5 separate regions of the Homo sapiens genome follow, and all the other regions are linked to region 5. The links are contacts of gene promoters, found by promoter capture Hi-C in blood cells and fetal thymus (Javierre and others, 2016). All regions are on one chromosome and are shown on one strand. The core of a region is centred on a gene start or on the middle of the fragment in contact, and the rest is flanking DNA. Distances in the headings are between cores, read along the strand shown. Region 1 overlaps CLP1 (cleavage factor polyribonucleotide kinase subunit 1). Region 2 holds the start of UBE2L6 (ubiquitin conjugating enzyme E2 L6). Region 3 has its middle 19 kb from the start of MIR130AHG. Region 4 has its middle 7.6 kb from the start of SERPING1. Region 5 holds the start of SLC43A3 (solute carrier family 43 member 3).

Region 1 (2,700 bases), core at 146-2,645, 230 kb before region 5:
ACAGTGGCTCCTGACAAACAGTCAGTCCTCAGTAAACATTTATGAAAAGAAGGAATGGATGAATGGCATCAGATACTTAAGTAATCCAAGTGCAAACCAGGGACACCAAACAGTCATTTGCAAGAGATCAAAAAGAATGGGCTTTCCCAGTTTCTTACCACCTGAAAGCTTAAGTTACACTTTGACTTAGGGCCTAGTTCCAATCAAATAGACAAGGATAGCTGTACTGGAAGGAAAATGAGCTATCTCTGGAAAATGATTAGATATGAAATCTCATTCCAAGATTATCACCAGCCTCTAACTCCCCACAGTAAATCCAGCACTGACAGCAGATTTACCATCTACTTACCTAAGCGCAGAGGAAAGGTGAACTATCATAAGAACTCACAGCCGGGCACAGTGTCTCACACCTGTAATCCCAGCATTTTGGGAGGCCGAGGCAGGCAGATCATGAGGTCAGGAGTTTGAGACCAGCCTGGCCAACATAGTGAAACCCTGTCCCTACTAAAAGAAATACAAAAAATTAGCTGGGCGTGGTGGCGGGCACCTGTAACCCCAGCTATTTGGGAGGCTGAGGCAGGAGAATCACTTGAACCTGGGAGGCAGAGGTTGCAGTGAGCCAAGATCACGCCACTGCACTCCAGCCCAGGTGACAGTGTGAGACTCTTACAAAAACAACCACCACCACCACCAAAAAAAAAAACCTGACGTGGCTCACAGGTAGGTTTCTTGGTTTTCCCCTCCTCCAAGCATTTTAGCAATAAATCATTCCAATTATGTTTCTATAACGCTTAGGGGAAAAAAATAAATTATACCAACTTCTATGATATGGCAAAAATATTTATTAAAATGATTTTTTTTAAGTTTGAACTTTATTGGAAGGAGTCCCTCTAATTCACACTTTCATCCTAGATAAATGGGTAAGAACCACATATGGAATATAAAGCATTGATTTTTTAAAAACCACATAGTAGCACAGTGAAAGAAATGCAATTCTCCAGGGTCTTAGAGAATTCAAAGTGGCATCTTAGGTGGTCTAAGAAACCAATTACAGTCTCATGGTTTTCCTTTTGGTTCAAGATTAGAAGAGTCAGGTTACCACTACCTGTTTTTAGAGGTAGAATATGAACTTTCTACTAGTCCACAGTTTACTGGTCAGGTGGCCCCAACAGTCTTTTATCTCAGCCCATCTGCCTCTAGGGGTGGCCAGATGATCTCTATGTCCCAGGCAGCAAGGCTTCCTGCTGATCTCTACTTCAGATCCATGAACCGGATATCCATGATGAGAAGGAAGTTCTTAGGCAGTGGGCGAGGGGCTGGAGACAGAACAGTAAACACCTGATGCTCCAGGTCCACACTGGTCACCACAATGAAGCCAGCTACACTTGTCTCGGACAGGTTCTCCTCTGTACCCTCGGCAGTGCTAACACTCAGTAGGTGGTGCACCATATCTCGCCCAGGAGTGACAGGTACTAGCTTGAGCTGATTATCCTCTTGAGACATGCCCAAAGGTAAACAGGAGTCTGGGATGGTGGGTGCCCCAACTTTGTAGATTTTCACATCTGAAAATTTGACATTGAAGGCATGGGGATAGAAACAGCCTCGGAATCCATAAAAATACTCACGGATACGCTCATCCCTACATTCCCGCCGGAAGTCCTTGGAGCGCTCCACCACACCCCCAGATTTAGGGAGCAGCACAGTGCGTACAAAGTGGGGGAGGTCCCGTTTCAGTTCATTGTACAGTCGTTCTTGATCCAGAACAACAACGACATCCACCTCAAAAGCTGAGGCTGCATGCACCAGAGCCTGGTAACCAGAGCCCTTGACCCAGCCACAGGTGTTAATGACACAGCCACTCACAGATGCCCTTCGGTTCACCTCACACCTTTGGTTGAACACATCTGCTAAACGAGATGTAATCTGCAAAAGAGAGGATCAAGGTAAGAACAAAAACACCCAGACAAACCCATGGCTACTTTGTTCCTCTTTAGAATAAGTGCTATTAGATATAAGAAAAATGATTTTTTTTTTGAAATGGAGTCTCACTCTGTTGCCCAGGATGGAGTGCAGTGGCACGATCTCAGCTCACTGCAACCTCCACCTCCCGCGTTCAAGTGATTCTCCTGCCTCAGTCTCTGAACAGCTGGGATTACAGGCACCAGCCACCACGCCCAGCTACTTTTTGTATTTTTAGTAGAGACAAGGTTTCACCATGTTGGCCAGGCTGCTCTCCAACTCCTGACCTCAGGTGATCCACCCGTCTCAGCCTCCCAAGTTGTGGGATTACAGGCATGAGCCACTGTACCCAGCCTGAAAAAATGACATTTTTAATGGCTGTAGTTTTGATACCATAACATGGATTTAATTTTTATGTTGCTGCTTCTGCCTCCTGTTTTATGCCCTAAGTGAAAATCTAACAAATTACTAAGAATAGATCCACAGAAATGTTTAACAATCTGAGACTGACATATTTGGAATTGCCTTTCTAAAGTAATGCAGCAGAAATACCAGCTGAGAAAATGCAGTGTTAACTAGTAAACTTCTCCAGTTTCCTACCCTGATAGCAGCCCTTCCCTCCACCCCACCTTTCTCTGGCTCTGACCTTATTATAAAGCTTGATGTTAGTGCCAGGAGTGGTGGAACCAAAATGATACACCAGAGGGGCCTGGATAGAGAAACCCTCTTCGACATCTGCAG
Region 2 (2,783 bases), core at 184-2,683, 140 kb before region 5:
GTTCTGCAAAATCTGAGCAGAGAAGTCATTTGGTTTCAAAATACTTGGATAAAAACATTACGGTGGCTCACGCCTGTAATTCCAACACTTTGGGAGGCCGAGGCGGGTGGATTACTTGAAACCAGGAGCTCGAGACCCTGACTCTACTAAAAATACAAAAATGAGCCGGTCGTGGTGGCGCGCGCCTGTAAATCTCAGCTACTCAGGAGGCTGAGGCACGAGAACAGCTTGAACCGGGAGGCGGAGGTTGCAGTGAGCCGATATCGCCACTGAACTCCAGTCAGGGCGACAGTGAAACTCTGTCAGAAAAACAAGAAACAAAAAAACTGTGAGGTACTGAGATCACAAACTGGTGCTCAAAATATACTGATTTCCTTTCTCGTCTGGACTAAACGGGGGTAGGGAAGGGTGAGAAGGAGGGGATCGGCCCTCCCAACAAGTCTCATCTTCCCCAGATGCTGCTTGGTGCTCAGGGGCTGCAAGTACTCTGTCCTTGCACAGAGGGTTGGGGACTCCAGCTGTGCATGGGGGCACACATTAGGCCCACAGCTTGTAATGGACCAGTAGTAAAGTAAGGGAGGGGAAGCAGACTCTCTCTTGGAAAGGAGGCTCCTGAGTCCTTCTTGGGGCTTCCCCCACCAACTGTTTCCCAAACCAGCATACAGTAGGCACTTAGTAAATACTAAACCTAGTAAAGGACTGAATGATGGTAGACCGAACCCCCAAAGCAAAAGAGAAAGGGTCCAACAGCGCCTCCTTGCGGTGCTCTGCCCCAAGCCACGGGGAGAAACGTTGCAGCCCGCGCCGAACGCCGGGCAGCACAAAGGATCCCCGACTGCCGGGGAGCGGTGCTCGGAGGGCACAGGTCTACGCCATCCCCCACGCAGTTTCGGAGATGGAGCGCTGGGCCCATGGAGGGAAGGCGGCAGGCTCGGCGGCTCCGGCAGCTTGCTGGGGCAGGGGCTCAAGGCGGCAGTCCGATAGTGGAGGCCGCTGAGAACTGTCACGGAGCTGCGTCTGTACAGCGAGCATCCCTTATTTATTCAGGGCGAGTGTGTATTTGGGGCGGCGTGCAGGGGGCTGACAAAGACCGGAGAGCTCCCGGTGCGGCCGCCGGCGGAGCGAAGACTGGAACCCGTATGAGCGCCCCCCAGCGCCCCTGAGCGCTCGCCGCCGGTGCACGGCGCACCCCGCGGGAGGCAGGGATCAGCAAAGCCGTGCGCCCCGAGGCCCGCCCCCGTCTCCGCACAAAGACCGTGAGTCCCGGGTCCGAGCCTTCCGCGCGGGGATCGGGCGGTTGTCCGGCGGGTCGTCCTTCGACGGCCTCCTGGCCTCGCCGGAGCGGGTGCGGGGAGGCCCACGCAGCGACGGCTGGAGGAGGGGTGGGCGGGGCTGCCGGGGGTGGGGTCCCCGGGGCGGGGCGGGGCGCGCTGTGTCGCGGGTCGGAGCTCGGTCCTGCTGGAGGCCACGGGTGCCACACACTCGGTCCCGACATGATGGCGAGCATGCGAGTGGTGAAGGTAACCGCGTATAGGATGACCCCTTTCTCTTGGCTCCCCTCGCCTCCCGCATTCCCTCCTCCCTCCATCCCCTCCGCGGCTCTCCGAGCACATTTATTTATTTGTCTGGGCACCAGGGCTGGCTGAATCCCTGTCCTCCCCGCCCTCTACTCAGAGGAGGACTGGCCTGCAAGAGTGGCCAGAGCTGGGGTTTTGGGGGTTTGGAGGCCTCTGCTTGAGCCGTTCGCGTGGTGAAGATGAGCCGGCTCCCCCAAAACTGGTTTCAATTTCGCTTTTCCTGCCTGAAACTTGTGATAACAACTGGGTGCATCTCCAGTGCAGGAAAAGTCCTTGGCATCTTGGTGCCAGGCATTCTGCTACTGCTGGTGGTGGGTTATGAACACAGATGACCAGGATGAAGTCCTTGCCTTGGAATAAGCCCATAGCCCATCCCATAATTTGATGCCTGTATTACTAGAGTCCTGAGAAACACGGAATGCTGATTAGAATTTGGGACAAAGTTCCCTGAGTATTCTCTGGAGGAAAAGATGCGGAGGTGGACCTGGAAGGCCTCCTGGAGTAGGTGGCTTGCGTTCGTGAGTTCTACAAGTGTTGAATGCCTACATGTGCTGGCCCTGTTCTAGGAGGGGGGGGGGGGCGGGCAGAGATGAACACAAATCCGGCCCTTGTTGAATTTTGTTCCTATCAGGGACACAATTTGAAATAAGATCTGGAAGGATGGGGAGGGGGCAGTTTCCTCCAGAAGGTGGGAAAACCCAGGGTGTTTGGAGATGGATTAGGGAGGAAGGTGATCCTGGTGAAGTGAGTCTGGCACCCCAAGTCTTTCAGAAGTGCCCCTTCCAGTCTGCAGGGTGGAGGGGCAGGCTCTAGGAAGAGGGTGCCTGCTACCCTCAGCCTCTGAGAAGAAAATGGCCTCAGACTGGGATGCCCAGAGCAGGCTTGGCCTAGATACTAAATCTGGAGGTTGGCAGCAAAATGAGGCAGAGGGTCTTTCCAGCCAAGTGGAAGAGAGATGGGAGCCAGAATTTATTGCATTGGAACCATTACATGCCAAACGGTTTACATGGTTATTTCATCTAATTCGCACAGCAGTTCTGTGAGATAAGTAATATATACCCGCATTTTACAAATGAGGAAATTGAGGCACAGAGGAAATAACTTGCTTGTCCAGAGTCTTTCAGTAAGGAGCAATGGGACTGGAATATGAAACCAGGTCCACAGGCCTCCAGCCTGCAGGCTCTCTTAATGGCCTTTCTACTTTCA
Region 3 (2,721 bases), core at 148-2,647, 190 kb before region 5:
ACGGAGTCTCACTGCATCGCCCAGGCTGGAGTGTAGTGGCATGATCTCAGTTCACTGCAACCTCTGCCTCCCAGATTTAAGTGATTCTCTTGCCTCAGCCTCCGGAGTAGCTGGGATTACAAATGCCCACCACCACCCCCGACTAATTTTTGGTAGAGATGTGGTTTCATCATGTTGGCCAGGCTGGTCTCGAACTCCTGACCTCAAGTGATCCACCCACCTTGGCATCCCAAAGTGCTAAGATTACAAGCATAAGCCACCACTTCTGGACTTCTGAGATCTTGAATGAGTAGATCAATTGCACTGTAAGGTTTCATTTTTCATCTATAAAAGAGGATAATAATGAGGTGGTACTACTGTATATTATATAAATTTGAATTATACAAACTTGAAAAATTGAAAATCTCCCTAAATTAAAAAAAATCATCAAGGGTTGCATAATTTCAAAATTGGTGGGCTGAGTGGATTGTAAACTATACTCATAACTATTGGTACATGATAGTGGCACTTGAGCTGGTGAAAGTAAATAACTGCCATCACTGCTCATAATTGTGTGAATCAGCTATTGTTTATGTGCATCATAAATTCTGACAGTGACATTTGTGACTAAGGTGCTGTTATTTTAACATTCAGCTTTATCATTTAAAATATTTCCTGTATTCTACAATGATGTCATCTCAGAGTTCATTCATTAAGTCATGGCACTAGTGCTAAAAACACCCTCCAAAATCAATAACTTTGTAATGAAAGTTAGATATGATAAGACACTATGAAAAAGCCCAAATAGCTGTCCTGATATGCCAAGCAGTTAATTTAAGAGTGCCTACTCTGAGAAATATTAGAGATTTTTGTATTTAGAAAATAAACAATAGTTTGAAGACAAGAAATTCTACAATGGTTGAAGATTCTCTCCCTACCTTTTACAGTTATTATTCTGGAAAACTTAGTATCAAATTATCTAAATTTTGAATTATCTAATATATTCAGTAACATATCCTTTTCTTAAGTCATGATCTCTCTTAAATGAAATAACATAATCCATGTAAAATTCTTAACACAGTGCCTGACAGCATGGCAAATGGTTAATGCATGTTAGGTAGATACATGGCTAATGTGGTTATCAACCATGAGTCAAGACAATGTCCTAAGGGTTCATAGGGATGAGGCTGATTCTGACATAGCCTATGGCTCATGTTGGAAGCCTTCTGCTATCCAGAGAGAACTAAAGGTATTGATCTTTGAGAAACAGTGGCTGAACAAGTGTAAAGTGTAAACTTTGGAATCAAAGTTTAAGTCCCCACATCAGCTGTTTAAGAATCTGGAACCGGCCAGGCACAGTGACTCACACCTGTAATTCTAACACTTTGGGAGGCCAAGATGGGTGGATCACTTGAGGTCAGGAGTTTGAGACCAGCCTGGCCAACATGGTAAAACCCCATCTCTACTAAAAATACAAAAATTAGCTGGACACATGGTGGGTGCCTATAATTCCTGCTACTCAGGAAGCTGAGGCAGGAGAATCCCTTCAACCTGGGAAACAGAGGTTGCAGTGAGCCAAGATCGCACCATTGCACTCCAGTCTGGGCAACAGAGAGAGATTCTGTCTCAAAAAAAAAAAAAAAAAAGAATCTGGAACAGCAAAAACATCTCCCTGAAAAGGCAAGTGTCCATGGGGCTATGCAGGACAAGCCTTCAACAATGACACCAAGTGGCAGCAAAGACTCATTGCAATGGAACCCTAATCTCACCTTAAGGTTCTTCCCCAGACAAATCCACGTGTGGAGGGGTCTACAGTTGGGGACAGGAAACAGATCACTGAAAATGGATCTGTGGACATACAGGCCTTTGTCTACCCCAGAGTAGAATTGCAAGGCAGGGCAGAAAGGTGGGGGTTGTAAGGGTGTGTGTGTGTGTGTGTGTGTGTGTGTGTGTCTATGAGTGCATAGCCCTCTGTCCATCTTTCTCAAGGGAAATGGAAATGAAGATAATTTATTTATTTATTATTATAAATACTCAGGCAGCTCTGTATTTATAATAATTTATTCTACAACACAGGCAGCTGGAAGAGCCAGAGATTGTTAAATATGCCACAGAGATAGCAACAGAAGATTCAATTTATATGCAAACGACTTGAAACTTCATGTAACAAAGTGTTTCTAATATTATTATGATCTCGACAAAAGCCCTTGATTCTTTAGGGAAAAACAGAGTGGCAGGTTGCTGGGGAAAGTTGCTAATAGTTGTTTGCAACTATGTAAGACCACATATGGTATACTGGAAAAGTGGCCAGAATTATTCACATTTCGTTATATTAATGCCCTTAGCAGAATGACTTTGCAGGTCTTTTCTTTAACAGGTAGAGATTCTTTCCTTACCTTGAATCTAAACTGGTCTGGTGACTTGCTTTGGCTGCTAGAATGAGGCAGAAGTGATGTTCTAGTAGTTCCTAGCTTCGGATTCAAGAGGCCTTGCATGCATGCCTCTGCTTGCTTTCTTGGACTTTTGCAAACTTCGTATGAATAAGCCAGACTAGCTTCCTGGAAGACCAGAGATCACTTGGATCAGAATTGGTCATCTGGTTGATCCCAGCCAAAGTCTAAAACATGTGAAAGAGCCTATGCAAGCTCAGTGAAATCAAACCTCAACAAACCTTCAGCTAACCCCCAGCTGACTGTAGCAGGTACATAACTGAGGCTACCCTAGATTTGCCAAGCCCACACT
Region 4 (2,732 bases), core at 196-2,695, 160 kb before region 5:
AAACTATTTCTTTGATCTCACCCTGAGAGAGACATTTGGATTGATTCCCAAACCAATCCCCTTAACTACATGCCGGTTCCAGAAGTTTCCCTCTCACTTACTATCTTTTCCACTTCTTGCACAGCAGCGTACCTGCTTTCTCTGCTACCTTTCTATTTCTAGCCTTTGTTTCCAATTCTCCGTTGCCAGCTCTGTAGATGGAAGCGCTAGGTTTGGACTGTTGACTCAGCTGTGAATTTGGCTCCATTCAGATTGTGGCCCCTTGCTTTGACCTGCTGTTTCTGCTTCCATGCACCTCTCCTGAGGGTAAAAATGCCTGCTCCACTTCCAGAAAAGCCAAAATTCACCTTGCGTTCCTCAATGCCTGTTGAGAAACAGGGAGCCACCCTCCTTGTTCTGCCCAACTTGAACATGAAGCCCCATGGTCACTTCTCCAGTTACAGACTTTTCTTTTCTTTTCTTTTCTTTTTTTTGGAGACAGAGTCTTGCTCTGTTGCCCAGGCTGGAGTGCAGTGGCATGATCTCGGCTCACTGCAAGCTCCGCCTCCCAGGTTCACGCCATTCTCCTGCCTCAGCCTCACAAGTAGCTGGGACTACAGGTGTCTGCCACCACGCCCAGCTAATTTTTTTTTTTTTTTGTATATTTAGTAGAGATGGGGTTTCACGTGTTAGCAGAGATAGAAACCCTGTCTCTACTAAAAATACAAAATTAGCTGGGTGTGGTGGTGCATGCCTGTAATCCCAGCTACTTGAGAGGCTGAGGCGGGAGAATTACTTGAACCAGGGAGGTAGAGGTTGAGCCTGGGCAACAAGAGCAAAACTCTGTCTCAAAAACAACAACAACAAAAAATTGTGACGGCACCATGTTTAAGTTCTGATATTCAGTAGACCAAGTCCTCACATTTTATTCTTCTTCAAGAAGATCTCTGCTATTCTTGATCCCTGAATTTCCATATATACTTAGAATCAGCTTACCAGGCTCCACAAAATAAAAGGGAAAAATATGTTGGGATTTTGACTGGTATTACCTTACATCTATAGATCATTTTGGGAGTGAATTGACATCTTTATAACAGTAAGTCTTCTAATCCATGAACATGTTATAGCTTTCCAACTATTTGGCTCTTCCTTAATGTTTCTCTGCTGGGATTACAGGTGGGAGCCACCACGCCTGGCCTGTTTCTCAATATACTTGTTGATATGTTTAGGCTTTGTGTCCCCACCCAAATCTCATCTTGAATTGTAATCCTCATAAACCCCATGTGTCAAAGGAGAGACCAAGTGGAAGCAATTGAATCATGGGGGCAGTTTCCCACATGCTGTTCTCTTGATAGTGAGTGAGTTCTCACGAGATCTGATGGTTTTATAAGGGGCTCTTCCCTCTTTGCTCAGCACTTCTTCCTGCCACCTTGTGAAGAGGGTTTCTTGCTTCCCCTTCACCTTCTGCCATGATTGTAAGTCTCCTGAGGCCTCCCCAGCCATGCACAACTGTGAGTCAACTAAACCTCTTTCCTTTCGAAATTACCCAGTCTTGAGCAGTTCTTTATAGCAGTGTGAAAACAGACTAATACAGTTATATAGTTTGCTCTGAAGACGTATTCCACCTATTTCTGTTTATTTCCAGGATCTTGATTTTTTTTTTCTGCTATTGAACACAGTGCATGTTTTAGTTCAATCTATGTCATTAAAAAATCATTTTTGTGGCAGGGCACGGTGGCTCATGCCTGTAATCCCAGACCTTTGGGAGGCTGAGGCAGGCAGATCACGAGGTCAGGAGTTTGAGACTAGCCTGGCCAACATGGTGAAACCCTGTTTCTACTAAAAATACAAAAATTAGCCAGACATGGTGGTGTGTGCCTGTAATCCCAGCTACTCAGGAGGCTGAGGAAGGAGAATTGCTTGAACCTGGGAGGCAGAGGTTGCAGTGAGCTGAGATCATGCCACTGCACTCCAGCCTGGGCAACAGAGCAAGACTCTGTCTCGAAAAAAGAAACAATAATTTCTGGGCCTCATTTTCTCTCTCCTTTATGTAACAAGGCCTAGTTTTATCACTGGCCTAAAAGTCTTAGATTTTGTATTTACTTTTCAGTTCCAGGTTCCTTGAACTTGATTGGGTTTAGGTCTTTAATCTTGGGTCCTAATTTGAGCCCTTTATCTCCACCTCAGGTCACTATAGGAGGTGGTAGAAGTTGAAATAGCCTCTCACCCAGAGGGATTAGAGGAGCTTGATCTTTCCCTACATCCAGCCCATCATCAGACCTTTTGGTAGTATCTTCAAAATGTATCCTGAATCCACTCAGTTCTCTCAATCATTGAGGCCATGAACCCAATCTAGCCACAACCATCTCTCACCTGGGCCACTGAATAGCCTCCTGCCTGGTTTCCATGCTTCCACTCTGTCCTTTCCAGATATTCTTCAATCCACAGACAGAATGATAATAACTAATATAATATAATATAATACATGATAATCAATATAAATTGGTTTTCCATGGGAGACCTTTTTTTTTTTTTTTTTGAGACAGGGTCTCGCTCAATTGCCCAGGCTGGAGTGCGGTGGCACAATCTCAGCTCACTGCAACTTCTGCCTCCTGGGTTCAAGCGATTCTCATGCCTCAGCCTCCCAAGTAGCTGGGATTACAGGTGCCCACCACCATGCCAGGATAATTTTTTATTTTTTATTTTTATTTTTTAGTTGAGACGGGGTTGGCCAGGCTGGTCTCACACTCCTG
Region 5 (2,709 bases), core at 114-2,613:
GATGAGAGCATACGTTTCAGAGTTGGGAAGGTACTGCAGCTTTGTAGAATGACCGTGGGCAAGTTCCTTTGAAATTCCTCCCCAGAGCTGCTTCTCTGGCTCTGTCTACATAACTGCAGACTAGAAAATCTACTACCCTACAATCTGCCTATAGCACCTGCGCCATGCAGGGACCTCATACACCCATCTTATACTTCTTTTATGACAATTCCTATAATTAAGGTACTATTGTCCTCGTCTTACAGGTGGGGCAGCCAAAGAGCTTGCCTCAGGTTGTATAACTAGTGAGTAGCTTGGGGTACAGGACCCCAGCCACCCTTCCTCCATTCAGTCAAGTCACTAGGGTGGTTGCAGACTTTTATCTTTTGTGCTTTGGTGGTGAGCTGGAAAATCCTCAGTTCTGGCTGTCCCCTATCGTAACCTCTATTTCTTCCTCTTAAAAAAAAGAGGAGTGGGCTTGGAATAGCTGGAGTTCCTGGGCCCTCAGGGGATCCAGGTAGCTGGGGTTGGGAGTCTGCAGACTGCATCTAATACGCAAGAAGCTCTCCCCAAACTGAGCTTTTGGCAAGGAAACGGCCACACAGGCCAAAGAAGACGTCAGCTCACGTGCTCTGGGCTGGAAGGATAGTAAGGCAGCTGCTTAGTAAGGCCTCACGCTGATCACAAGCTCCGATGAGCAATTATATATGTCTTTGATTAATAAAAAATGGGGCAATGAATGGTTAATCAATGCAGTCTGGCGGGAAGGCTCTTTCAGAACCTGGGGGGCGGGGGTGAGGCAGGGAGTCATCTAAGGGGTTTTTGGGAGTGAAAATATGGGGCAGTCCTCCAGGGGATGGTTTCTGAAAAGCCCTCAGTCCTGGTTCTTGGCTTCCTGATTCTGTGGTTGGGATTTTTTTGGCAGCTCTGGGAGTGTGAAACTGGGAGAGACGGTTAAGCTGGTGAGCAAATAGGAAAAATATGTTCCCTGCCAACCCAGCGGTCAAGGCAAAATGCACAAATAGAGTGTGTGTGTCCCTATGCCCTCATGTGCTGTCTGTGTGTCCTCTGGGTGCTGGGTGTGACATTTTCCCTAGGTGGGCCTGAGCGAGTAACAGCATTCAACTAACTTGGTTAGGGGAGGCAGAGGCAAGGGGGCTGGGAGGCTGAAAGGCAGCGAGGAGGGAGGGAAAGACACCGCTGGGGTTCTAGGGGGTTCTAGAGGGAGAAGTTTCAAGAGGGAGAGGTAAAAAGGGCGCGGGAGGCTGTGAGCAAGGGAAAAGAAGAAGGAAGTGATGGAGAGTGGGAGGTCTGCCCCAGCCCCTTCCGGGCGGGCAGGAGGGGGCGGAGGCGAGCAGGGGACTGGGAGGGGCTGCGAGAGGCGCGAATGCGAACCTGGCCCGTGCGGAAAGGGCGCGGAGAGCCCCGGCGCGGAGCAGGCGGGTAGGGCGAAGGGTCCCCTTTCGGGCGCCATGGGGCGCCGAGCGCGGCCTGGCCCCTCGGGCTCCTCTGCGGGGAGGGCAGGCCGCAGGCTGGAGCGGGGTGCGGAGGCTGGCGGGGAGCGGCCCCCGGAGGCTTTCCTGGTAGAAGTTGATGCGAGGAAGGGCGGCGGGGACCAGGTTTGCGAGTCCTAGGCGAGGGTCATGGGAGTTGGGGGTATTTCTGGCAGTAGAATGGCCTGCGTCGTGACTAAACTAGCCCTGTGACCTTGGGCAAGTTCCTGAAATCCATGGGAGCTTTTGTTTCATTGTCAGTAAACTGAAGATAACACCAACTTGGCAGCGGGAGTTTGTGTCTTCTGTATGAAATCTCCCTGCCTCTGCACCTGGTTGAGTTGCTGTCATTATTTTAGGGGACGGTATTCAGAATTCGAGCGCAGGAGCTCCGCTTCTCCACCTGCTCCCGGGGAGCTATTGGGTAAGTCGTTTATCTCACCTGTGACTCCAGGTGGCCATCAAGACCTGCCTCTCTACTTGCCACGTGGTTACTCAAATGCAGTGCCTAAGATGATGTATTGGAGTATTTATTCCCCACATTTGCTGCCAGCGGCCATGATCATCCTGCCTCTTAATGCACCTCACAAATAACTCTAGTCTACCTTTCCCTTTCCCGCAGGCCTCCTCTTCCAGCAGCCTCTATCTTTATTCTACAGGATCCAGAGAATCACCCGCTGATGGTTTTTGCCCAGGCCTGAAACAACCAGAGAGCTACGGGAAAGGAAGGGCTTGGCTTGCCAGAGGAATTTTCCAAGTGCTCAAACGCCAGGCTTACGGCGCCTGTGATCCGTCCAGGAGGACAAAGTGGGATTTGAAGATCCACTCCACTTCTGCTCATGGCGGGCCAGGGCCTGCCCCTGCACGTGGCCACACTGCTGACTGGGCTGCTGGAATGCCTGGGCTTTGCTGGCGTCCTCTTTGGCTGGCCTTCACTAGTGTTTGTCTTCAAGAATGAAGATTACTTTAAGGATCTGTGTGGACCAGATGCTGGGCCGATTGGCAATGCCACAGGGCAGGCTGGTAAGGGCAGGGATGACTTTTCTAAGGAAGTTAAGTCTGGCTCCCACGTGGTGGCAAGGAGCAGGAAGGACTCTGCCCCCTGCCCACCCCTCTTTCTATGATGAGAGGAAGGGTCAGCAGCTCTCACCCCACTTGATCTGGGAAGTGCCTGGGAGGGAGGCACCAGCTCCTGAGGGGTAATTAGGGGCAGCCACATTTCAACTCAGCTTAAGGG

Evidence for each region. Contacts are between HindIII fragments. The CHiCAGO score rates a contact against its expected background, and 5 or more counts as called.
Region 1: a contact is called between a fragment that was not itself captured here and the fragment with the promoter of SLC43A3 in region 5, in 9 of 17 cell types (M1 macrophages, monocytes, activated CD4 T cells and 6 more). The highest score is 15.0, in M1 macrophages.
Region 2: the fragment with the promoter of UBE2L6 here is called in contact with the fragment with the promoter of SLC43A3 in region 5 in 1 of 17 cell types (neutrophils); the score reaches 7.0 in neutrophils.
Region 3: a contact is called between a fragment that was not itself captured here and the fragment with the promoter of SLC43A3 in region 5, in 2 of 17 cell types (neutrophils and monocytes). The highest score is 6.2, in neutrophils.
Region 4: a fragment that was not itself captured here is called in contact with the fragment with the promoter of SLC43A3 in region 5 in 1 of 17 cell types (neutrophils); the score reaches 5.4 in neutrophils.

The regions. Positions count from the first base shown.
Region 1 is chr11:57,659,988-57,662,687 of GRCh38, reverse strand. CLP1 (cleavage factor polyribonucleotide kinase subunit 1) reads right to left here. Exons shown (of 3, transcript NM_006831.3): 2 at 2,606-2,700; 3 at 823-1,923. The coding sequence ends at 1,252. Among named protein-coding and RNA genes, the nearest start is that of CLP1, 3.6 kb to the right of the region's middle. The HindIII fragment of the contact is 2,449 bases long and covers 171-2,619 here.
Region 2 is chr11:57,566,322-57,569,104 of GRCh38, reverse strand. It overlaps UBE2L6 (ubiquitin conjugating enzyme E2 L6), which reads left to right and starts at 1,433. Exons shown (of 4, transcript NM_004223.5): 1 at 1,433-1,520. The coding sequence starts at 1,494. RefSeq lists a silencer at 1,070-1,429 and an enhancer at 2,683-2,783. The HindIII fragment of the contact is 19,025 bases long and covers 1-2,783 here.
Region 3 is chr11:57,618,497-57,621,217 of GRCh38, reverse strand. No RefSeq gene overlaps it. Among named protein-coding and RNA genes, the nearest start is that of MIR130AHG, 19 kb to the left of the region's middle. The HindIII fragment of the contact is 3,483 bases long and covers 1-2,721 here.
Region 4 is chr11:57,588,695-57,591,426 of GRCh38, reverse strand. No RefSeq gene overlaps it. Among named protein-coding and RNA genes, the nearest start is that of SERPING1, 7.6 kb to the left of the region's middle. The HindIII fragment of the contact is 5,530 bases long and covers 1-2,732 here.
Region 5 is chr11:57,425,775-57,428,483 of GRCh38, reverse strand. It overlaps SLC43A3 (solute carrier family 43 member 3), which reads left to right and starts at 1,363. Exons shown (of 14, transcript NM_199329.3): 1 at 1,363-1,422; 2 at 1,832-1,896; 3 at 2,132-2,495. The coding sequence starts at 2,312. RefSeq lists a silencer at 1,244-1,603 and enhancers at 1,846-2,638, 1,747-2,709, 2,639-2,709. The HindIII fragment of the contact is 9,438 bases long and covers 1-2,709 here.